4 separate regions of the Homo sapiens genome follow, and regions 1, 3 and 4 are each linked to region 2. The links are contacts of gene promoters, found by promoter capture Hi-C in human tissues and cell types (Jung and others, 2019). All regions are on one chromosome and are shown on one strand. Each heading gives the region's core, a stretch centred on a gene start or on the middle of the fragment in contact. The rest is flanking DNA. Distances are from core to core; before and after follow the strand shown. Region 1 has its middle 2.4 kb from the start of SNORA68. Region 2 holds the start of IL12RB1 (interleukin 12 receptor subunit beta 1). Region 3 holds the start of JAK3 (Janus kinase 3). Region 4 holds the start of PGPEP1 (pyroglutamyl-peptidase I).

Evidence for each region. Contacts are between HindIII fragments. The study calls those that stand out against the background at their distance.
Region 1: a fragment that was not itself captured here is called in contact with the fragment with the promoter of IL12RB1 in region 2 in 4 of the 25 tissues and cell types used here (dorsolateral prefrontal cortex, lymphoblastoid cells, neural progenitor cells and 1 more).
Region 3: the fragment with the promoter of JAK3 here is called in contact with the fragment with the promoter of IL12RB1 in region 2 in 3 of the 25 tissues and cell types used here (dorsolateral prefrontal cortex, lymphoblastoid cells and spleen).
Region 4: the fragment with the promoter of PGPEP1 here is called in contact with the fragment with the promoter of IL12RB1 in region 2 in 6 of the 25 tissues and cell types used here (H1 embryonic stem cells, heart right ventricle, liver and 3 more).

What each region holds. Positions count from the first base shown.
Region 1 is chr19:17,863,523-17,866,546 of GRCh38, reverse strand. No RefSeq gene overlaps it. Among named protein-coding and RNA genes, the nearest start is that of SNORA68, 2.4 kb to the right of the region's middle. RefSeq lists an enhancer at 1,532-1,671. The HindIII fragment of the contact is 9,841 bases long and covers 1-3,024 here.
Region 2 is chr19:18,085,237-18,088,541 of GRCh38, reverse strand. IL12RB1 (interleukin 12 receptor subunit beta 1) reads left to right here and starts at 1,608. Exons shown (of 17, transcript NM_005535.3): 1 at 1,608-1,782. The coding sequence starts at 1,719. RefSeq lists enhancers at 1,277-1,336, 1,347-1,696. The HindIII fragment of the contact is 62,137 bases long and covers 1-3,305 here.
Region 3 is chr19:17,846,486-17,850,020 of GRCh38, reverse strand. It overlaps JAK3 (Janus kinase 3), which reads left to right and starts at 2,039. Exons shown (of 24, transcript NM_000215.4): 1 at 2,039-2,075. The HindIII fragment of the contact is 13,300 bases long and covers 1-3,535 here.
Region 4 is chr19:18,339,264-18,342,621 of GRCh38, reverse strand. It overlaps PGPEP1 (pyroglutamyl-peptidase I), which reads right to left and starts at 2,024. Exons shown (of 5, transcript NM_017712.4): 1 at 1,907-2,024. The coding sequence starts at 1,940. RefSeq lists an enhancer at 1,467-2,154 and a silencer at 1,986-2,175. The HindIII fragment of the contact is 61,917 bases long and covers 1-3,358 here.

The DNA.
Region 1 (3,024 bases), core at 370-2,869, 220 kb after region 2:
GATGGGTGGATGGATGGATGGGTGAGTTGATGGATGGGTGGGTGGGTGGATAGCTGGATGGATGGCTGGATGGTTGGGTGGATGGATGGATGGGTAGGTGGATGAGTGGAAGGATGAATGGATGGGGTGGGTGGATTGAGTGGACGAATGGATGGACAGGTAGCTGGTTGGATGGTGGAGGAATCTGACTGAATGGAAGGATGGGGTTTGGCAGGGGGTGGGGGAATTCGGTGGTAGAGGGGCTTCTGGGCACATTTATGAGAGGCTGAGTGTGCCAAGGTAGGTGAATAGGTGCAGGCTAGTGATCTGGGAGCACATTCATCCTGTCAATGGCCCCTCAATAATGGGATTGGCCTCCATGTCTCAGCTGGTTGGGGCAGAGCTCTCCCAAGTGGTTCCCAGGCTGCTGCCACGTGGTTGAAGCCCTGGAGGGGCTCCAAGGCACAGGGAGGGGACTGAGGTGGAGATGAGGGTATGCAGTGGGCTTTGGTGGGGCCGTGAGCCTTCCACTCTCCTGATCTCTCATCCTCCAACTCACCTAATATCACCTCGCCTGCCCTGCAGCCTGGAGGGATCACCGCCCTCACTTTATACAGGAAGAAATGGCTCAGAGAGGGCAGGGACTTCCAGGCAGTTACGGCCTGAGTCCACAGTGCCACGCCCTGCTTCAGGCCCAGCTCAAGGTAAGGTAAGGTCACATCTAACAGAGCAGCTCCATTACAGCCTAAGCAGGACTCATGTCTCCTCCCCGTGTTCTAATCAAGGGGGTAGAAGGGTCAAGCCTCAGGGACGGGGGCAGCACTGCACAGGGTCAAGTACCGGAGATCCTTCTCCCTCACTGCTCCTGTGTGTTGCTTCTTCATAGTCCAAAATGACTGCTGCAGCACTGGCCATCATGTCCACACCAGCCAGAGGCGTTCTTTCTCAGAAATGGCACATCAGTACTGTATTTTTGTTTTGTTTGGTCTCGTCTTGTTTCCAGGCTGGAGTACAGTGGCATGATCATGGTTCACTGCAGCCTCAACCTCCAGGCTCAAGTGATTCTCACACCTCAGGCCCCCGTGTAGCTGGGACTACAGGTGTGCACCGCAACACCCAGCTAATGTTACTTGGTAAAGACAGGGTCTCACTATGTCTACCAGTCTGGTCTCAAACTCCTGGCCTCAAGTGATCCTCCTACCTCAGCCTCCCAAAGTGCTGAGATGACAGCCATGAGCCACACCTGGCCATAGCTATGGAGGTTAGGAAATGTATTTTCTTTTCTGGGTGGCACTTAAGTATGAAGATTCCCTTATGGAGAAAGGAGAGTTTGTACTAGAAACCACAAGATGAATGAAATTCAGGCAAAATTTTAAGATTTCCAGCTAGCACCCCCCATCCAATATACTCTAAGGAACATCAAAAGATATCCTGGGCTAGGCGGGGTGGCTCACACCTGTAATCCCAGCACTTTGGGAGGCCAAAGCAGGTGGCATGAGGTCGAGTTCCAGACTAGCCCGGCCCACATGGTGAAACCCCGTCTGTACTAAAAATACAAAAAATTTGCCAGGCGTGGTGGCAGGCACCTGTAATTCTAGCTACTCTGGAGGCTGAGGCAGGAGAATCCCTTGAACCTGGGAGGCAGAGGTTGCAGTGAGCTGAGACTGTGCCACTGCACTCCAGCATGGGCAACCAAGCGCGACTCCGTCTCAAAAAAAGAAAGATATCCTGGGAAAATGTATGACTCTTCTCAAGCTTTTGCCCCGCATATGTAAAGAGCTTTCACGAAACAAAAAGGATACCATGGAAAGTTGAGCCCCTCCTGGATACACTGGGTGACACACACAGCCCCTGCCCTCTCAGAACTAGTGGGGGATAGAAATCAAATATAGCCCAGTCCCGGGAACCCACGTGCAGTTTGTAAAACTCGAGTGAGGCCAGCCTGGGGGAATCTGTAGTATTCCAGGCAAGTGCGAAGGCCCTAGGGTGGGAAGGAGCCAGTTGTTGGGGACGGGACCCGTGGGGTTCTGTGGTCTACAGGGCTGTCCTCAGGCCTGGGTCTTACGCAGAATGGGTGCTTGTGTGCTGACCCTGCCCAGGTTCTGGGCGCCTCTCCAAGTTCCTGGGTGTTACAACACCCCACAGGTGAGGCTGGAAAAGGCCTGGTTTCCTGGAAACCACACAGCTCCTCCACAGGTAGAGGAAAGGCTGTGTCCTTGCCCTGAGTGTGGTGGTGCCCCTGTAGTCCCAGCTACTTGGGAGGCTGAGGCAGGAGGACCACTTGAGCCCAGGAGGTCGAGGCTACAGTAAGCCACGATCTCTCCACTGCACTCTAGCCAGGGCGACAGAGCAAGACCCTGTTTCAAAAAGCCGTAACTACTACCTAGTCCTGGCTTCCTCCTGGTCCTGGGCTCTCTGGGACAAAGGAGGGCCCCATAGGCTGACCCCAGCACCTGCACAGCGTCACTTCCCACATCAATGTGGAACCCGATGTTGAGATCAAGACAGCAAGCCCCAGAAGGGCCGCTGGCCCAGAACAGGGCTGCCCAAGGTCACGCAACAAAGGATGGGAGGCTCCCAGAGCCTGAGCTCTTGGCTGTGTCTCAAACTTCTCCAATGCCAGCTTAGCCTCCACCTGACAGAAGGACTCAGCCAGGGTGGGATTAGTGTCATGCCTGGAATTTTCCAGGCCTGAGGCAGTTTCCCAGAGATGAGTACCTGTGGTGAGTCCTTGACCTCCTTGGGCAAGATGAGGGCGTCATCTAAGAGGCCCCCAACCAGTGAAAGGGAAACAGCCCCCAAGCAGCAGAGAGCGCCCCTCGGGTGCCCACTTGTGTCTACTCTGAAAACTTTGGGAACCAGAGACTTAGGAGAATCCCCAGGGAGTGAACGCCAACCCCACTATCTAGGGAGATTCTCCCTGGTCCAGACTCAGCAGGGGAGCCTGGGAGGCCTGTGTCTCACAAGGCAGTTGGGACAGATTTAGGGCCCAGGACAGACAGTACCCCTGCAGCTCATAGCCCAGGGCTGCCAGCAGGGCTGAGA
Region 2 (3,305 bases), core at 359-2,858:
CCCAGACTGGAGTGCAGTGGCACAATCACGATTCACTGCAGCCTCAACCTCCTGGGTTCAAGCCATTCTCCCACCTCAGCCTCCTGAGTAGCTGAGAATACAGATGTGTGCCACCACGACTGGCTAACTTTTAATTTATATATATATATATATTTTGAGATGGAGTGTCACTCTGTTGCCCAGGCTGGAGTGCAGTGGCGCGATCTCGGCTCACTGCAACCTCCACCTCCTGGGTTCAAGCGATTCTCCTGCCTCAGCCTCCTCAGTAGCTGGGATTACAGGTGCCTGCCACCACACCCGGTTAATTTTTGTATTTTCAGTAGAGACAGGGTTTCACCATTTTGGTCAGGCTGGTCTCAAACTCCTGACCTCGTGATCCACCTGCCTTGGCCTCCCAAAGTACTGGGATTACAGGCGTGAGCCACCGCGCCTGGCCTAATTCTTTATTTTTTATAGAGATGGGGTCTTGCTATGTTGTTTAGGTAGACCCAAACTCCTGGGGTCAAGTGATCCTCCCACCTCGACCTCTCAAAGTGCTGGGATTAGAGGGGTGAGCCCAGGTGCACAAGGCTGGAGCTTGGCATGTGGGGAGGTGGGCATTGTGGAGGGCCAGCATGCTGCAAGCTCTTTGTAACAATTTGTTGGAAGGATGAAATTAGGCCATCCAAGAACACTGCCCTCCTTCAGCTCTTGAGTCTCAGATTCAGAAGCTGGCGAGATGGCCCGGTGCGGTGGCTCACGCCTGTGATCCCAGAATTTTGGTAGGCCAAGGCGGACGGATCATTTGAACCCGGGAGTTTGAGACCAGCCTGGGCAACATGGCAAAACCCCCTCTCTTAAAAAAAAAAAAATGCAAAAATTAGCTGGGCGTGGTGGTGCATGCCTGTAGTCCCAGTTCCTGGGGAGGCTGAGGTAGGAGGATGGCCTGAGCCTGGGGAGGTTGATGTTGCAGTGAGCCGTGATTGCACCACTGCACTACAGCTGGGCCACAGATCAAGACCCTATCTCAAAAGAAGAAAAAAAGAATTTGGCAGCCAGGCACGGTAGCTCACGCCTGTCATCCCAGCACTTTGGGAGGCTGAGGTGGGTGGATCACTTAGGGTTAGGAGTTCGAGACCAGCCTGGCCAGCATGGTGAAACCCTGTCTCTACTAAAAATACAAAAATTAGCTCGATGTTGTGGCAGTTGCCTGTAATTCCAGCTACTCGGGAGGCTGAGGCAGGAGAATTGCTTGAACCCGGGAGGCAGAAGTTGCAGTGAGTGGAGATCATGCCACCACACTCCAGCCCGGGCGACAGAGCAGGGCTCCATCTCAAAAAAAAAAAAAAAAATTGGCTAGAGAGGGCCAGAGACCTGGCCAAGTGCATGGAACCACAGGTGGCCCATGGGCCCATGGGGCTGGCATCTGGGTGTTCAGTTCAGGTCTGGGGCCAGCAGGGCAGAACCCCCTAGAACCCTGACTTGCTCCAAAGTCAGACTTGCTCCAGAGTCTGTGGCCGCCACCATCACCACCACCACGGAGCTGACTTCCTGGGTTTCTCTTTCACTTTGACTTGCCTTAGGGATGGGCTGTGACACTTTACTTTTTTTCTTTTTTCTTTTTTTTCAGTCTTTTCTCCTTGCTCAGCTTCAATGTGTTCCGGAGTGGGGACGGGGTGGCTGAACCTCGCAGGTGGCAGAGAGGCTCCCCTGGGGCTGTGGGGCTCTACGTGGATCCGATGGAGCCGCTGGTGACCTGGGTGGTCCCCCTCCTCTTCCTCTTCCTGCTGTCCAGGCAGGGCGGTGAGTCCCCTGACCCTGGCATGGCGGCTCCTCTTGCTGGGTGGAGGCACGTGTATGTGTGGAGAGCTGTGGGCCTGCTGTGTGGGTTGGTTTCATCTCTCTGTGCCTCAGTCTTTCCTGCTGTCAAATGGGAGATGGGCAGTCATGGCTTCTGGGATCGAACTTAGACATCTTTCCTCTGGTCTAGATTTTCTCTTCTGTGAAATGCACTAAATTTTTTCCACCTCCCGGAGTTCAATGAGAAAAAAAACTAAGGAAGGAATAAAAAGCAAGTATGTATCTAATAGGTATACATAGTATAGTATCTTATGTATGTAGTTTACAATAGATAGACATACATAATATAATGTATACAGTCATTTCCATATTTACGGGGCAATGGTTCCAGGACCCTCTGCAGATACCAAAATCCAAAGATGCTCAAGTTCCTGATATAAAATGGTAAAGTATTTGCATATAACCTATGCACATCCTTCCGTATACTTTACTTATTTATTTATTTATTTATTTATTTATTTATTTATTTATTTATTTACTGAGGTAGGGTCTCACTCTGTGTCCCAGGCTGGAGTGCAGTGGCCTAATCATAACTCATTGCAGCCTTGACCACCTGGGCTCAAGTGATCCTCCTGCCTTAGCCCCTTGAGTAGCTGGGACTGCAGGTGCACACTACCATGCCTGGTTAATTTTTTTGGTGTATACTTTTTACAGAGACAGCGTCTCGCTGTGTTGCCCAGGCTGGTCTCGAACTCCTGGGCTCAAATGATCCACTCACCTTGGCCTCCCAAAGTGCTCAGATTACAGGCATGAGCCACCATGCCCAGCCTTCCCATATACTTTTAATAATCTCAGGCCCTGCACGGTGACTCACTCCTGAAAATCCAGCACTATGGGAGGCCAAGATGGGTGGATCACTTGAGGTCAGGAGTTCGAGACCAGCCTGGCTAACATGGTGAAACCCCATCTCTACTAAAAATGCAAAAATTAGCCAGGCTTGATGATGGGCACCTGTACTCCCAGCTACTTAGGAGCTGAGGTGGGAGGATCGCTTGAACCCAGGAGGCAGAGGTTGCAGTGAGCCGAGATTGCAGCACTGCATTCCAGCCTGTGTGGCAGAGCAAGACTCTATCTCAATAATAATAATAATAAATAAACTTTCCTTCTCTGTACACTGGGGATCAGCGGGGTGCTGACTTTTTCAATGGCTCTTGAGATGCACTGAGTGCCTGTAGAATGCCCACAGCAGTGCTGGCCACACCTCAAGGTCCCAGCGCCTTCAGGGGCCAGGCATGGCTGGAGACCAGCAGCAGGGAGGGGGCGAGAGGCAGCCCACGAGGTATCCTGGAGATAGTGGCAGTGAGTGGTCAGTCCAGGGAAAGGGAAGGAGGATGGGCTTTAGGCTCTCAGGGGTGGGTGGGTGGGTGGGGGTTCTGTGTCATCACAGAGAGAGATGGAAGGATGGAGAGCCTTGTGTGTTAAGCATCTTTCCCCCCTCAAGGTTGGACACTTGGGGCTGTTTCCTG
Region 3 (3,535 bases), core at 790-3,289, 240 kb after region 2:
CACAGCTAACTGCAGCCTCAACTTCCTGGGCTCAGGTGATCCTCCCACCTCAGCCTCCCCTAGTAGCTGGGACTACAGGCACATGCCACCACATCCAGCTTATTATTTTGTTGTTGTTGTATTTTTTGTAGAGACAGGGTTTCACCATGTTGCCCAGGCTGGTCTCGAACACCTGGGCTCAAGCCATCCTCCTGCCTGAGCCTCCCAAAGTGCTGAGATTACAGGTGTGAGCCACTGTTCTTGGCCACAACTTCTTAAATCTATTCCTTTTTTTTTTTTTGAGACAGAGTATTGCTCCGTCGCCCAGGCTGGAGTGCGGTGGCACAATCTCAGCTCACTACAACCTCCGCCTGCCTCCTGGGTTCCAGTGATTCTCCTGCCTCAGCCTCCCAAGTAGCTGGGATTACAGGCACATGCCACCACGCCCAGCTAATTTTTATATTTTTAGTAGAGATGGGGTTTCACCATGTTGGCCAGGCTGGTCTCGAACTCCTAGGCTCAAGCAATCTTCCCACCTGGGCCTTCCAAAGTGCTGGAATTACAGATGTGAGCCACTGTACCCGGTCACCACTTCGTCAGTCTATTCCTGAAGCTCTACTTCCGGGGCTCTGATCCTATTATCCTAAGAACACTGGCCCAAGTCTCTGCATTTGGATGCTGCCCGGGCCTTCTGCCTCTTCTATTTATAACAGCTCCTACTTCCAACTCTCCTGTGGCTCCAGATTATGCTCCAGGCAAAACCCACCCTTCTCCCAAAGACCCTGATCCCCCTGTCCCCCCACGATCTTGCCCCTGTTGACCGCCCTGCAGTCCCCTTCCCCCTCATCTCACCCCTGCCCCTGGCCTCCTGACTGCTCTTCAAGCTGCTAAGATCACTGCCCTCTCAAGGTCTTTGCCCATCCTGTGCCCTCCTCCTGGAGCACCCTTTCCCTGGCCAGCTCCCTGTCCTGCCTCGGGTCCAAGTTCCAGTCTGTGCCTGTCCTGACACCCTGGCTTTCTTTGTTGTCTGCGATGATTTGGCTCCTTCATTTGCTCATTGTCTCAGCGCCAGATCACAAGTTCCAAGAGGCCAGGCCGGATCCACCTGGTTTTTTAGGGCTGGGCCCAGGGCACCACAGGCAGAAATGGGTCATTATCTCTCCCTGAGTCTTTTCTTTTTTTTTTAAACGAAGTCCCGCTCTGTTGCCAGGCTGGAGTGCAGTGGCGCCATCTCGTCTCACTGTAACATCCGCCTCCTAGATTCAAGCAATCCTCCCACCTCAGCCTCCTGAGTAGCTAGGATTACAGGCATCACCAGGCCTGGCTAATTTTCCTGTTTTTAGTAGAGACAGGGTTTCATCATGTTGGCCAGGCTGGTCTCAAACTCCTGACTTCAAGTGATCCGCCCGCCTCAGCCTCCCAAAGTGCTGCGATTACAGGCCACCACGCCTGGCTAATTTTTGTATTTTTAGTAGAGACGGAGTTTCGCCATGTTGGCTAGGCTGGTCTCAAACTCCTGACCTCAAGTAATCGCCCGCCTCAGTCTCCCAAAGTGCTGGGATGACAGGCGTGAGCCACTGCGCCCAGCGTCTCCCTGAGTCTTAAGGGAGAAATACCTCAAAGAAGAACTTGACCTTCCTCTGGGGCAACTTCCCTGCTTCCCTCCTGGGCAAATCCAGCCAGGTTTCCTTCCCTGGGTGCAAAATTAGTTCCACTGGGTGCCCAACTCACACATGCTACAGATGGGTAAACTGAGGCAATAAGGGCCGGGCCAGAGCCCCACTTAACAAGTGGGTCTAGAGTCGGCTGAGCCCCTGGTGTGACCCAGACCCTTCTCTGTGCTATCATCAGTTCCTTTGGCTTAGGGGTCTCCAGCAGCCTGTCTGAACGGGGCGGCTGATGCAGAGGCTTCCGGAACTTTCTGCCCCTCCTTGCCCGCCTCCCCGCCCCCAGCTCCCGCAGGGCCCTGACTTTCGGTAAATGACAGTGGCTCAGGAAACCAAGGGGCCCACACAGGAAGGAGCCGAGTGGGACTTTCCTCTCGCTGCCTCCCGGCTCTGCCCGCCCTTCGAAAGTCCAGGGTCCCTGCCCGCTAGGTAAGAGCTGGCGATGCCGCAGGGCTCGGCCCAGACACTGGGGGAGGATGGTGGTGGCGGGGGATGGCTGGGCTGGGGCAGGGTGCTGCCAGGGCAAAGGCTAGCTCGCCTTCCAGGCCTCGGAGGAAAGCTGCGAGGCAGACGTGAGCCGAGACTCGCATCCTCCGATCGCTCGCTTCTCTGGGCTTCGGCTTTGACTAAGGCCGGGAGATGCCTGCCTTGCGGACCTGGAGGAGTCATTGCGCATGCGCGACGGGGGCTGCGGGGTTGGGGGTGGGGAGGAGGGATTGGGAAGGAGGGATTGGGGGGCGGAGTTCCCAGCCCCTACCCTCCAGGCCTTCCCGGTCCAGACACAGGGTACCCGACCATACCAGGATGCAGAACGTTGAGGATTATAAACAGGGGATGCCGAGGCGGGAGGATAGCTTGAGGCCAGGAGTTCAAGGCCAGCCTGGGCAACATAGCCAGACCTCCATTTCTACAAACATTTTTAAAAAACCAAAAAAACTATGGCGTTTTCTGGGACCAAACATCACCTCTGACTTTTCATTTTTTTTTGTTACAGTATTACAGAATAATAATATTCTGTTAAGATTTTTTTGTTGTTTTGGAGATGGGAGTCTTGCTATGTTGTTCAGGCAGGTCTCTAACCCCTGGCCTCAAGCTATCCTGCTGCCTCAGCCCCCTGAGTAGCTGGGATTGCAGTGGGGCGCCACTGCCACTGAAGCCTTATTTTAAACTCGACTGGGGCTGGGCACAGTGGCTCATGCCTTTAATCCCAACACTTTGGGAGGCTGAGGCCAGCGGATCACTGGAGGTCAGGAGTTCGAGATCAGCCTGGTCAACATGGTGAAACCCTATCTCTACTAAAAACACAAAAATTAGCCAGGTTTGGTGGCGGGTGCCTGTAATTCCAGCTACTCAGGAGGCTGAGGCAGGAGAATCGCTTGAACCTGGGAGGTGGAGTTTGCAGTGAGCCGAGATCATGCCACTGCACTCCAGCCTGGGAGACAGAACAAGAATCCGTCCTCCCCCCTACAAAATAAATAAATAAATAAAAAGGCTGGGCAATGTGGCTCACGTGTGTAATCACAGCACTTTGGGAGGCCAAGGCAGGCGAATCACCTGAGGCCAGGAGTTTGAGACCAGCCTGGCCAACATGGTGAAACTCCGTCTCTACTAAAAATACAAAAATTAGCTGGGCGCTGTGGTGCGCGCCTGTAATCCCAGCCACTTGGGAAGCTGAGGCATGAGAATCGCTTGAACCCAGGAGGCAGAGGCTACAGTGAGCCAAGATCGTGCGACTGCACTCCAGCCTGGGTGACAGTGCGAGACTCCGTCTCAAAAAAACAAACAAACAAACCAAAAAACTTGATTGGCTGATGTTGAGGGGACGATAGAGAGGCTATGGTGTGTGATTTTATTTCTATAAAGGGCAAAACTAGACATCAATCTCTCTG
Region 4 (3,358 bases), core at 775-3,274, 250 kb before region 2:
CCCCTCATGCTCAGCCAGGGGCCAGAGGTATCTTCTGCCTCCGAAAAGGTCCTGATCCTGTCTTCACTTCCTCTGGTCCCCTTGACTCAACCTACAATTATTGTGTCACTGTCCCAAAATGCCCTGAATCGGCACCAAATGAGGAATGAGCCCTCCAGGCTGTCTAGATTTCACCTTGTCACCCTCCTCCCTGCTAGCTCAAACTCCAGGCCCCCTTTCCAAAACACGACAGTCGCCCAAGGCTGTGCTAAGTGATCTTCCTGGCATTAAGCCTGGCCACATCCCCTTTCAGGCAAGGGTGTTTCCTAGGCCCAGTTTCCAGGAGCAGGGACTGAGGCACAGAGAGGTGAAGCTAGCTGCCCAAGGTCACACAGCAAGAAGGTGAAAAAGCTGGGATTCAAATCCAGATCTGGGGCTGGGTGCGGTGGCTCATGCCTGTAATTCCAGCACTTTGGGAGGCCAAGGCGGGCGGATCACCTGAGGTCAGAAGTTTGAGACCAGCCTGGCCAACATGGTGAAACCCCGTTTCTACTAAAAATACAAAAAATTAACCAGATGGGGTGATGCGTGCCCGTAATTCCAGCTACTCAGGAGGCTGAGGCAGGAGAATCGCTTGAACCCAGGAGGCGAAGGTTGCAGTGAGCCGAGATCGCGCCGTTGTGCTCCAGCTTGGGCAACAAGAGCAAAACTCCGTCTCAAAAAAAAAAAAATACGGTCCATCTGGGCCAGTGATCCCACAGGATATGAATGCTATGCAGAGATGCTGTAGCCTGGGATAGCAGGTAGGGGCTGTGGCTCAGGAGGGGACCTCCTAACTCTATCCTTCTGTACAGCCAAAGTTTGAGTCTCAGCTCAGCCCCTTACAAACTGGATGACCTCTGTGAGCCTCAGTTTCCCTTTCTGCAAAATGGAGACAGTAAAGATGTAATCAGCTCATGCAAAAAGTGCTGGAATAAATAACCAGATAAAGGAAGGCTGGAAGGGATGGGGGCAGTGACCCTCCTCCCAATTATACACACCTGTTAAGCAGGTGCCTTGTTTCTTCCTTCTTCCCTGAATCTCCTGGATCAGCCTCAATCTCCCTTCAACAGCCACAAAACACCTGTGTGCACCTTTGCTGGATTTCCCACTCTGACCCCTCCAGACAGCAGGTCAAAATGACCCCCCCACTCCTTGACTCTGAGGCCCCAGCGGAAGTTGGCGCCCCACGTGGCCCCGAGGCGGAGTCTCAGGGAGGAGAAACAGTTGGTTTGGGGGTGGGGGGGAGTCGGTGACAGCAGGGGCCCTGACTCACCAACAAACAGCCCTGGCACAAAACACAAAAAGGTTTCCGCTGAAGACAGTCCCTGGGACAGCTGGGAGAGCCCGAGGTCCCCGGACCCCCACCTGCCCCTGCCTTGGGAGAGTAGCCCCCCAGGAGCGCAGGGCGCGGCGAGCAGTGACTGGGAGGTTCATTTGTCACTGGGACACTTCCTGCCCGCAAATCGGCCTTTGTCCCCTGGGGCCAGGGGTTGGGGGAGCGGTGTGGGGACAGGCTGGACCTCGGAAGGGGCAGGGAGGAAGGGTCCAGTCCAGCCCGCAGGCCAGACAGAGGAGGCAGGTGCCAGGAGGGTCACCATCCCCACCTTGGGAGGAAAGGACGCCAGGGGGGCCTGCGCAGCGCCGGGCTTTTGCCCGGCCCCCCAAGCCCCGCGCCCGACTGCCCTGACTCCCGACCCTGGGACCCCCAAGGCTCCTCCTCCTCCACTTTCCAGGAAGCCTGGGCTGCGCGGGGCTCCCGCGGGTGATGACACCTTCCAAATCTGAGAGGACTTCCAGCACCTGCCCCTCTCGGCCCCGCAGTCCCGGAGCCGCCCCCGCCTCTGCCCCCGGCCGCTGCCGCTACAGCCCCCATCAGCCAGCGTACCCGTCACTACCACCGCCTTCCTCGGCTGCTCCATGGCGGGATCGGGCTGTGCCTCGGACCTGCTTCTGTTGCGACTGGCGCGACAGCTGCTGCCGCTGCAGCCTCTCGGCCGCGCGAGGCCACGCCCCTGTCAAGCCCCCGGCCTCGCCCCCGGTCAGCCGCTCGGCGTGCGCGCCCCCGGGCCCGAGACGCAGCGTGCGCGCCCTGCGCCCCGCCCCCGTCGGCTAGGCCCGGTATTCCCCAGCCTCCGTTTCCCCGTCTGCAAAATGGGAACATCTTATGCCGTAGTGTGTAGCCGCTTGCACGCACTGAGCCAGGTGCTGGGGATGAGCCGGTCCTTTATTCTGCAAGGGTTCATTGAGGGCCTGCCCTATGCATGCATACTGCGCAGAATTAGGGAGGGAAGTCCCCGCGAGCAAGGCCCGTTTTCCAGATAAGGAAACTGAGGCACAGAATGCCACTTCCCCGAGGTCACTCGCCTCAAGGGGTCACAGGAGCAGCATTCAGGCCAGGAAGTTGGCGGGGGTGGGGGAGGACAGAGTAAAAAAGGAAAAACACGACAACCATATTTGTGTGGTGCCAGAAGTTTCTCTGCAGGCCCCCATGGTCCTAGGAGGCTAATGGGGGAGGGCGATTGTACCTGCTGTTCCCTCTGCCGGAACACACCCCGCAGGTACCTGCGAAGCTGGCCTCCTTCAGGCCTCAGCTCCAGTGTTCCAATGTCGCCTCCTCCCAGGGGCCCTCCTCCTGTCCTGGCTGTCACCTCCTCCGAGGGGTGAACTGTCACTTTCTCCTTGTGGCCTTCTCTGGCTATCACCTCCCTGCTATCCTATTACCTCCTCTGAGGGTTCCTTCTGGCCCTCCTTGGCTGAAATGACCTCACTGCTACCCCCCAGTGGTTCCATCTCATTCCCTGGTTCCATCCTCTTCATAGCAATAAAGCTCAGAAATAATTTCCTTTCTCTCTCTTTTTTTTGGAGACAGGGTCTCACTCTGTTACCCAGGCTGGAGTGCAGTGGCAAAATCATAGCTCTGTAACTTTGACCTCCAGGGCTCAACTGATCCTCACATCTCAGCCTCCTGAGTAGCTGGGACTACAGGTGTGTGGCACCACACCCAGCTAATTTTTGTATTTTTGTAGAGATGGGGGTTTCATAGTGTTGCACAGGCTGGTCTCGAACTCCCGAGCTCAAGCAATCCGCACACCTTGGCCTCCCAAAAGTGCTGGGATTACAGGTGTAAACCAGCACACCTGGCCAGAAATCATTTTTAATTTTTTTTAGCTTTTAAGTTTTGGGGTACATGTGCAGGTTTGTTATATAGATAAACTCGTGTCATGGGGTTTGTTGTACAGATTATTTAGTCCCCCAGGTATTATTAAGCAGAAATTATATATGTATTTATTTATTTGAGACGTAGTTTCACTCTTGTCACCCAGGCTGGAGTGCAGTG